Regions from separate parts of the Homo sapiens genome. Here region 1 is linked to region 2. The links are contacts of gene promoters, found by promoter capture Hi-C in blood cells and fetal thymus (Javierre and others, 2016). All regions are on one chromosome and are shown on one strand. Each heading gives the region's core, a stretch centred on a gene start or on the middle of the fragment in contact. The rest is flanking DNA. Distances are from core to core; before and after follow the strand shown.

Region 1 (5,118 bases), core at 2,319-4,818, 1.4 Mb after region 2:
AAACAGAAATAGTCTACTATGCAAAGAAGGTCCTTGTGTAGGAAATTGAAGGTGTTTGCCCATGTGATGGATGAGGCTCCTACCAGCTTTTACATACTTTTTAATCAGAACAGTAAGGCAAGTTTATAAAATAGAGAAAACATCACCCGTAATTCCATCACCGTAATACAATTTTAAAAATTCTTGTGTGTTCCTTTGTTCCCACGCTTGGGTATACATCTTACCCAGTTGCATAAAGCCCTTCTACTTTTCTCTACTCAACAGGGGAGCTGGACATTTTTCCATGTTGTTATTTGCTAGTTGTCATTCTGTAAATCCCAGCTCTAACATTCTAAAGCTTGTAAGAGATTTTATTCACCAGATTCCAGCTAATGGTTTATATATTAGTCCATTCTTGCACTGCTATAAATACCTGAGGCTGGGCAACTTATTAAAAAGAAAAAAGAGGGTTAATGGGCTGACAGTTCTGCAGGCTGTGCAGGAAGCATAGAGGCTTCTGCTCTGCTCCTGGGGAGACCTGAGGAAGTTTTCAATAATGGTGGAAGGCACGCAGGGGAGGCAGGTATGTCTTACATGGCCAGAGTAGCAAGAGAGAGAAGAGGCAGGTGCCACACACACTTTTTTTTTTTTTTTTTTTTTGAGACAGAGTTTTGCTCTTGCTGCCCAGGCTGGAGTGCAAGGGTGCAATCTCAGCTCATCACAACCTCTGCCTCCAGGGTTCAAGCGATTCTCCTGCCTCAGCCTCCTGAGTAGCTGGGATTACAGGCAAGTGCCACTGTGCCTGGCTAATTTTGTATTTTTAGTAGACAGGGTTTCTCCATGTTGGTCAGGCTGGTCTCGAACTCCTGACTTCAGGTGATCCGCCTGCCTTGGCCTCCCAAAGTGCTGGGATTACAGCCATGAACCACTGCGCCTGGCCACCACACACTTTTAAACAACTAGATCTCCTGAGAACTCTGCTACAAGAACAGCAGCAAAGGGAGAAATCCACCCTCAAAATCCAATCACCTCCCACCAGGCCCTGCCTCCAACTTTGGGGATTAAATTTGACATGACATTTGGGCAGGGACACAGACCCAAACCATTTCAGCTTAGATATAGGTTGGTGGGAGAGGTTTCCCAAAACTTACTCCTAATGGACTTTAGATTCTTACTGTGACATGACTTTGCTGTATCAAGTATATTCAGCTTTGCTGTAGAGAACAATGAATAGATGAAAAGGGTGAAACTGAGAAGCATATTAAGCACAGAGGGTAGGCGAGCTGCCAGCTCATGAGGTGCAGGTGCATCTCAAAGGGTGTGTTACGGTAAGGAAATGAGTGAGAAGTGGCTTGTGAAGTAAGGGCAGATTCATCAATGTGTTCAATGGTGAGTTAATTATGGGTGTGATGTGTTGAAGACAGAAGTCTTACATGGAATATATGATGGCGCAAATAGTGTTACTGATCATGCCCTCACTGGACTGACAGCTCTGTTACCCCTGCATCAGCCCAGAGCATGCCAATCAAACTGTGGCTGTCCAGCAGGCTAACTGGCGACCTGCAGCTATAGCCAGTGCAGTACGTCTCTCAGAAGAACAAGTTGCTGTGTTTCTCCAATAGGACACATCTGTGCTGTTGGCTCTAGGTGCCCTTTGTCTGTGAGGCCCTGATCCAACTCCAAATCTGGTCTTCGTCACCACCCCATCAGCAGGGAAAACCGATGTGGGAGAGGAAGACAGGACATGTGAATATGGTGCTAACCAGGCCTCATGCTCTGGGCTTCCCCCCAAATGCTGCCCTGCTATTAACCTGCCCCGTCTCTCACCCCTCACTTCCCTATGTGTGTTTTAAACACATTTAATAAACCATGGGCTCATCACAAGGTCATCAGATGATGTCATACCCTGGAGACAACTTTCATTTCCCTAAACTTGCACTTCCCTAGTAGTCCTAGTGAAGCTCTTCAGTTTCAGAGTTTACATTTCCTTGTATGACCACAAGCTTGAACTTCCACTGAGGAGGCAGAAAATTATGGTTCAACGCCACCAAGACACGACATCTTAAAAACAGCTTATCTTACTTAATTTTAAGTACAGTATGCACAGAAATCCCCAAATGAGGTTAAGAGAGGTGTGTGGCACACTTGCACAGATTTCTCATTTGAATCCACATATGCTTAAAATCTCTTTTTACTTGGTGTAGAGCTTGGTTCTATAAGTGCCCTTCAGCTCTCTAAACACCAGATTGTAGCTCCTTGTGGAATGCCCGAGGAAGCGACAAGGAATGAAAAGAAGAGCATGGCTGTTCTTACTGAAGTGGCGGTCGATTTCTAAAAGCCCTTGCAGAGGATTTCTGTTGTTGCCACCTCTAATTAGTACTGCTGGGATTAAACTTAATAGGTTCTGAAGATAAAGTTAGCACGAAGGAAAAACAAACACACTGACAAAGCACATTCAGAATCAGCCGTGGGACAGCCGTCACGCCTGCTTGTTGCTAAGCTAGCTTCAGGCACCTCGCTTTGGAAATTAGCAGGGTAATGAATGTAAAATAAATGAGAAGTCTCTGTGAGGCTCCTTTTCTGACCTGCGCTGAGAGCTGGTGGATGCATGGCCCCAGAGGAGTCTCAAATGCTCAGTGATTGCGGAGGCCTGCGGACCTTCAGTGCTCAAAGTGTTTGCACGCATCTGGGTGTGCCCAGACAAAGCTGCTGGTCTAGGGAAGCGTAAGTCATCAGCTTGACTACCAAAGACCTTGCAAGCTTCCTCATGGTGGCACAAAACTAGCCAATATGACTCAATTCCCAAATAACACTTGCCAGTGATTTGAGAAACGGGAAAATACGGTATAGGCAGGGTGGTCAACTCAGGGGCTGAGGAAGGTTTAGGCTGTGAAGGGGAATTTTGAGATGGAGCCTTCAGCCTATGTAGGCTATGTATACATGAAGAATATTCATCTTGTTGCTTTTTGCTTGAAACGGTACACAAATGGCCTGCTTTTCTCTTTACTTGTTCTTAAAATTGATCAGAAGTAGCTTTCTTGGCTTGTTTCATAAGATCTTAGGACTTGAGCATCTACTATTAGCAGTGATTAAAATTTCCCCATGTTGTAATAAGGGTGACTGTGAATCTGTGTGGCACTTGAGATCTCACAAAGTGCATTTACCTTGGAAAATTCACCTTTGCGCTATCTAGAGCCGAGCAGTGTCCTGAGTAGGAATTCCTGTCTGTAACACCCTTCCCCACCTCCTACTCCCCAGATGTTCACCTGCATGTCACTATCTCTGGTAATAGCTGGCTTCCGTGTGTCCAGGCACTCCTGGGTCTTGGCCACATATTTTCAAAGGTCTGGCTCTTGGCATCTGTGCTGAGCTTGGACCCCTCCCTCTTCATATTATGCTCTCCACCCACCCACCCTTCCACACTGCCTCAAGGCTTCCCCTGGGGGCCTTCCTTGCCCTTCCTCATCAGGCCGGGCACTGCCATCTGAAACAGTCTCATATGCAGTGTGTCCCCCTCCCAGAGCTTGTGCACGGTGTGACTGTTTATCTGTGTGACTGCATGTGTGTGATCAGTAGCTCATGAACTAGTGACACATGAGGACTTCAGAGCCGGGTTCTTGCAGCTGGTGTGTGCTGGCTGAACTTCTGACTCTACCTGGTCACAGCGCAAGTGAACACGTGTTCACTTACACACCTTGGCCTCACTCATTTCAGGGCCAGGGCAGTGCCTGCCCCATGGAGTTGCTGTGTTGATGAGTGAGGCACATGAAGCACTTAGCAGAGTGCCTGGTGCCCCCACAGCACTCGGGGCCCATGTGTGGGTCTCACCTGTGTGCTGAGACCTCCTGTGTCTCTTCACCACTGTGTCTCCAGCAGGTATCACAGCACCTAGCACAGGGCAAGCTCCTTATAAATTTGTGAAATAAATGGATGAATAAGTGAGTTCAAGGGGAAATATATATATTGGTCCCAAAAGGCAAACATATTTATATTTCTAAAATTTAGAGAACTACTTTATGGAATTGAAGTAAAGATGTTTCTTGTTTCCACGCCAAAACATGGAAAGTTGATGTACTTGGGACACAATACCATGTGTGCGGTGTGCTCATCTTTTATTCTGAAGACAAATAAGGGGTCTTACTGTGGAATTAGGGGGCCACACGGGGCTGCAGCTTCTGGGCATCATTGCTCTTTGCTGCTTAATTCCAGCTTACAGGATGTTTCACACAAACACCAAAAACATTTTTAAGATGGACCATATCATATTTATCATTGTCTCTACAGTGTTTGGCTTCAATGCATCAAACTTCAAAATATGTGTTTGCTTGAATTCCAATTTCTTGACGGATACACGGCTTGGAAACCAAGCCTCCTTTGGCTGATAAAATAAGAACAGAATCTGACACTTAAAAAATTATTTAAGCTTTGCCAAGTGGGAAAAAAAAGTGTATTCTCCTACTGCTGAGCATCTTGGCTAACTTAATCACTGTTCCCGTCACTGAATCTCCCTTTTTTGTCATGGGACTTCCTGATCGTTAAATCTATTTCATAGTAAACATAAGTGAATTTTGGTTTATTGTTATTCTTGTTTACATTGAGAATTAATTTTGAGTGGAAATTATATACTTCATGTTATGTAGATGAAGTTAGGGTGGATGTTATATTCCAATAATTTTATGGCTTGAAAGAAATTCAATTTTGTTATGTGGAATGATTTCCTAAGAATGAAAAAAGAAAATGACAGCTTCAATGATCAAAGAAAGAATCATGCAGAGAATCGTTTATGTAGACCTCTCAAATTAAAAAAAATATCCAAGTATTACTGTTTCTTAATTATGTGGTCTCAAGATGAGTGTTGGAATAATTATGTTATTAGAAACTCAGCCTTTGTGAGAAATTCGTATTTTCATTATTTTATTTAAAAAGCTTTTCAACATTTCTTACTGCAAAGAAATGACAATTAGCCCTAGGAGACCAGCCCACCAAAGGCGCATTAATGTCAATCTCAAAACAGATAAAAATAGGACCAAGAATGAAGTCAACTGGCAGTACCACTCCCTCATTTAGCAAGTCGGCTTGTTGTTCTGGGTGAGCCAAGCAGGCAAACCCCCTGCTTTCAGGACTTTCACAGTCTTGAGG
Region 2 (5,368 bases), core at 1,567-4,066:
CATACTGTTGGTACTTTCAATGCTAGAGCTAGACTCATTTCCCCTGATTCTGTTGCTTCCCCACTTGGCAATTGTCACCACGTATTTTTCAAAATGAGAAGTGAGAGTGCTTGCTCAGAAGAATGAAGTAACTTGAGTCGGTCAGGAGCTCAGCAGAGCCAGGGAGCTGAGCTGCCAGGTGTGGGAGGTGCTGGTATACACAACAGCCAAGTGAAAGGCACAGTCAAGCCTGTCTGTGCTCACTCGCTGCAGGAATACGAGCAAGGCTGCGGCAAAGAAGGCACCCCTGCCCCCTATTTTGGATCAGTTTTGTTTTGGGGGTATTTAAAAATCTTTTTATTGTGTATTTTTAAGGTATGCATCAGGATGTTTTGATATACATTTACAGAGTGAAGTGATTACTGCAGTCAAGCAAATCAGCGTAGCTCTCATATAGTTTCCCAGGTGTGGGTGTGTGGAAAGAGCATCTAAGGTCTCTTCTCATTTCCAGCATACAATACAGTATGATTCACTGTTGTCCTCATGTTGTACGTTAGGTCTCTAGACTTACTCATCCTATGTAACTGCAGCTTCGTACCTTTTGACCTGCATCTCACGTTCCTCCACCCCCTACCCCCAGTGATTACATTCTACTCTGTGCTTCTATACATTTGACTTTTAAGACCCCACAGCTAAGTGAGATCTTGCACTACTTATCTTTCTGTTCCTGGCTTACTTCATAGTATCCTCTAGGTTCATCCACGTTGTGGCAAATGGCAGGATCTCCTTTTTCAAGGTTGAATAATATTCCATTGTGTTTATATATGCCACAGTTTCTTTATTGAAACAATTGTGGATTCCATTTTGGATCAGCACAGATATGGAGAAAAGTGGCTTCAAGCTTCCCTTCCCCAGGAAGTCTCAGCTGAGGAGCCTGAGGGAGGACTTGCATGAAAGGAACAGATCCCTCTGAATGAAGGCACCCAGCCAGGAGTGCACATAGCTCTGGAAGAGCACGGGCTGCGGGGAGGTGGGCTGAGTCCTTGACTGTGGCCCCCAGGACCTGTCATGCACTGGCTGTGCACAAGTCAGGTGTGGGGAGTGTAGCTTGCCCCCGTGAGGCCCACCAGGCAGTCTTTATGATTGACCATGGTTTGGCATGAAAGATCACACATAGGTGTTTGGCCAGGAGTGAGACTCTTCAGTCATAGCTAAGCGTTCAATTGAGTTTTGCTCTAGGATTTCTAAAGTACCTTAAAATGAAGAAACTTTGGCATTTTAACTCTAATGCAATTGTGCAGTAGGTTTTTGAGGGAGGAAAGGGGCAGTTGGTAACAGGGGTACTTTAAAACCCATTTTAAGCCAGGTGTGGTGGCTCACGCCTGTAATCCCAGCACTTTGGGAGGCTGAGGCAGGTGGATCACTTGAGGCCAGGAGTTTGAGACCAGCCTGGCCAACATGGTGAAACCCCATCTCTACCAAAAAATACAAAAATTAGCCGGGTGTGGTGGCATGCGCCAATAGTGCCAGCTACTCGGGAGGCTGAGGTGGGAGAATCGCTGGAACCCAGGAGGCAGAGGCTGCAGTAAGTCGAGATTGTGCCACTGCACTCCAGCCTGGGTAACAGTCAGATCCTGTCTCAAAAAAAAAAAAAAAAAATCCATTTCAATGCAGTTATTTTAAGTAAAAATATTGCTTCAAGAATTAGACCCTCAATGCTCAATTATCCTTTATATAAAGAGTTGTATGCCACTGATTTCTTCATAAGTGTCTTTTTAAAATAATCTTGAATAAGTTCTGAGACATGTATATACACATCAAATCCTTTATGAGGTAAAATAAAATAACATGGTGATGAACAAGTGAGAGTGAGTACCCAGTACCCTGCGGTACCCAGTGCCCTTTTCATTTCAGATGAAACTGTAGAAAATACTTTCTGGGGTTTTTTCTGTGTGGCGGTCATTCTCTAGTGAAATTGTCTGTGGCAGGTTTTGGTCGGTGGTGTTGATTTAGCCTGTATCTGTTGGAGTATACTTTTTACCATTTTGACAAGAGAGAAGTGACAAGTGGTTACCCCACGTGGCGTGGGTGTGCTGAGATGGGATGGCGGGCAGCCCTGCCGGCACGGATCGCCCGCTTGCTGAGCTCTTGCCATACCTGGTGTCCTGGGGCAGTGCAGAGCTGCCTGAAGTATATGCCATCTGGCCCTGCATCAGCTACTGTTGGTATCGTGGAGGAGACAAAGTCCTCAAGTCTAACGGGAGACCTGGAGTGCTGCTCGTACAGTGCCAGGAGGAGAGCTGAGGAAGGGGGCCCTGAGGACAGTAGCACTCTGAGGAGGAGGTGGTGGGGAAAAAAGAGGCCATGAAAGGAGAGGGTGGGAGTACAGATGGAGAAAATGGCGAGAAAGGAGGAAGGAAAGTTCAGGAAATGTGCAGGGAGTGAAGCCAGGCGGGCCAGGGCATTGCTGGGGAGGGACGAGGTCCCTGCGGAAACCAGCTGGGAAGGAGGCTGAGGTGGATTTGTGGAGGGTCTGAAATTCATGGTGATGTTCCTGCACTGCCAAAGGGGAATCAGCCTTTTTTTCTCCTTTGAGAGAACAGATGAGGGTTGAAATTAGAACTGTGTTTTTAAACTATATTTTAGCAACCTTTAAAATATATGTATATATATATTAAGTAGAGTCATAGTGCATAATATAACAACAAAATCGGAGCCTTAACTCTCACCTTCTTCTGGGCCTCAGGAACCCCGAGCTCATGGGAAAAGTCTTGAGGATCTCCCCATCAGGAAGGTCACGGAGGGACTGCAGGAGCAGGGAGTTGCTAGAAGGAAGAGACCTGCCAGGCAGCTATTGTACATGGAGGGGATGGGACCCAGTGCAGGGAACAGAAAGGAAGTAGGTGTGAGAAACGTTGCCACTCTCACCTGGACCAAGTGCGATAGCTGATTGGCTGCAGGAGAGCTGGGGGCGGGTATTCGGTATGAGATCCACAGGCTGCTGGGAATGCAAAGAGCCAGGAAGACAGGAAGAAAAGTTGATGGGAGGAGGAGGAGACACCAGAGGGGTCGGCTCGGGTTTCAGGTGTTCGGGGCCACCTCATATGAGATGCTTGAAATAATTGGACTGTGACTCAGGCGACGGGTCAGCCTGCTGACAGATTTGGGAGGCTGCTGCGTGGAAGGGGAATTTGAAACGTGGGCTGGATCAGCACGGAGGATTGGGCAGGGAGAAGGCCAAGGCTCAAGTGGAGAAACAGCCATCAAGTTTAAAGTAGGAAGGAGGGAAGAGCCAGCAAAGGGGGTGGTGAGCGGTGATAGGAAGACAGCAAGCCAGGCACAGCGGTCAGGGACGTCAGTGATGACCAAGAAGCGGCCTCCAGGAGAGGCGAATGTTACAGGTGCCTTTCCCCGTGAGGTCTGGAAGAAATACTGGCTTGTAACCTCGCAGGCCACTGTACCCCTTGAGTCTCAATTTCTTTGAGTCAAATTGGGGTCATTTTCTGCCCTACCAGCCCCATCTGCCCTTGTGTGACGATCAAGTAAGATAAGTGTAAAACCACCGGCCATCTGCTCCATTCCAGCTGTAATAGGAACTAGACTGTGGACAGTGTTGATGTGAGGCCTCCAGGGAAGAGGATTAAAGTATATCGGAGCTCTTGTTCCTTTGTTCAGGCTTGACACAGTCTCCTTTGTCACCAGGTTTGTTAACCACAGGAGCACTGAGCTTCTCAGACATCCCACACCTTTGTGGGAAATACCTGTTGGGAAGTATTTTTGACACACACTGTGTGCATACATTGGGAAGAGCTCTCTAGTGGCTATTTTTTTTTAATAGGCATTTGACAAGATTATTGCCTTAAGGCGACAGTGAGAGCTAATGCTTCTGTAGCTCCTATTCTGTTCCAGATACTGTTCTAAATACAAGTAACGCATTCGATCCTCTCAGCCAACCCTATGAGGTAGATATTGAGAAAATTAGTGCTCAGAGAGGTTCAATAACTTGCCCAAAGTCCTAGAGCTAGTGAGTGCCCAAGCCAGGTTGGAACCTAGAATCCCGGCTCCAGAGCCAGTGCTCTGAACCACTGTGGAAGAATACCAGGCGGGCTATGACGGCATGCAAGCCAGGCACACAGCCTGTGCTAAAACCGTCTGTGAAAGGAGAGAAGACTGCATTGGTACAGTCAGAAGACTTGATGGGAGAGGTGGATGTCAGCCAGATCCTAATGGATGGGTGTTGATTAGTAAGCACTATACTATGCTCTCCAACCAAGCTAGAACCCTCATCTTATTCAGGAAGGCGATGTCATAACCACTCCATCAAGCTGGGATCATTATGAGGACAGTCAGTGGGCCATACGATTGGAGGAAAGCATTCCGGGCAATGTGATGGGAAGAGCTATGAGAGCCCAGGGATGAAGTCAAGGTGACTGTGCCACCTGTTTGCCCAGTGTGGCCCCACCATCCCGCCATCCCAGTGTGACTACTAGATAGTTCCCCCTTTTACTCTCAAGTGTCCCAGTTTGAATGACAAATCATGAGTTTGAGGAAGTCTGCCAAACATTGAAATCATTTGCAGAGTGTCACAGATGTGTGCGTTGTTTCTGGGCATAGGTCCCTTGTTCAGAACATGCCCTAAGGGGGCCATCCCCATGGCGTAAGGAGTTTGGTTTTTGTTTTTTGTTTTTTTAAGGAAAATGAGCCTAGCCTTTGTGTGCAGCACAGAATCCAGTGGGGGAAGTGCAGCAGGTGTTGGTAGGAGGCTCCGGAGATAAGGCCTGTACCAGGTGGGAGGGGAAGGCGGGCCCCCAAGACTGCAGAGGTATTGGTGGTGATGTTTATCTGAAGCTGGGAGGTGGTTGCCTTAGTGTCCACTTTATTATACCTTCCAAATACGACTCACATGCTTATTATGCACTACTGTATCGTAAAAGTAGATGAAAAACCACCTGAAGAAGTATGTACATGGTCCAGAACACGGGCTCTGGAGTTCCTGTGTGACTTTGGACGAGTTGATCACCTTAAACCTCTACTGCTCATTTGTGAAGGAGAGAGAATAGCAACACCTGTCCAAGGATTTCGAGGATTTGCAACAATCCACGTGAGCCACTTAGTCTATAGGAAGAGCTCTATAAACATTGGTTATGATTCTCTTCCCCCCTCAGAAAATCCCTTCTTAACTTCTGTCATAGGGTTCAACAAGGGTGCACAGAGACCCAAGAGTGTGGAAGAGGAAGCCATAGAGTGATGGAATAAATAACTGGTTTCCTTGAAAATGAATGGCAAAGTCATCTGGTACATTTTCCCTCCTTTTTTTAGCACTAAGTTCATTGACCTGACTACTCAGAAAAAATTAAAACATGATGATATCAATGTTGGAGTGATTTGA

Evidence for each region. Contacts are between HindIII fragments. The CHiCAGO score rates a contact against its expected background, and 5 or more counts as called.
Region 1: a fragment that was not itself captured here is called in contact with the fragment with the promoter of MRPS9-AS1 in region 2 in 1 of 17 cell types (naive CD8 T cells); the score reaches 5.6 in naive CD8 T cells.

What each region holds. Positions count from the first base shown.
Region 1 is chr2:106,535,413-106,540,530 of GRCh38, forward strand. It overlaps a transcript of CD8B2 not described here. Among named protein-coding and RNA genes, the nearest start is that of CD8B2, 51 kb to the left of the region's middle. The HindIII fragment of the contact is 1,663 bases long and covers 2,738-4,400 here.
Region 2 is chr2:105,100,128-105,105,495 of GRCh38, forward strand. It overlaps MRPS9-AS1 (MRPS9 antisense RNA 1), which reads right to left and starts at 2,817. Exons shown (of 4, transcript NR_110227.1): 1 at 2,709-2,817. LOC105373527 (a long non-coding RNA gene) reads left to right here and starts at 1,630. Exons shown (of 3, transcript XR_923138.3): 1 at 1,630-4,636; 2 at 4,914-5,080; 3 at 5,172-5,352. RefSeq lists enhancers at 3,373-4,234, 4,235-5,095. The HindIII fragment of the contact is 13,539 bases long and covers 879-5,368 here.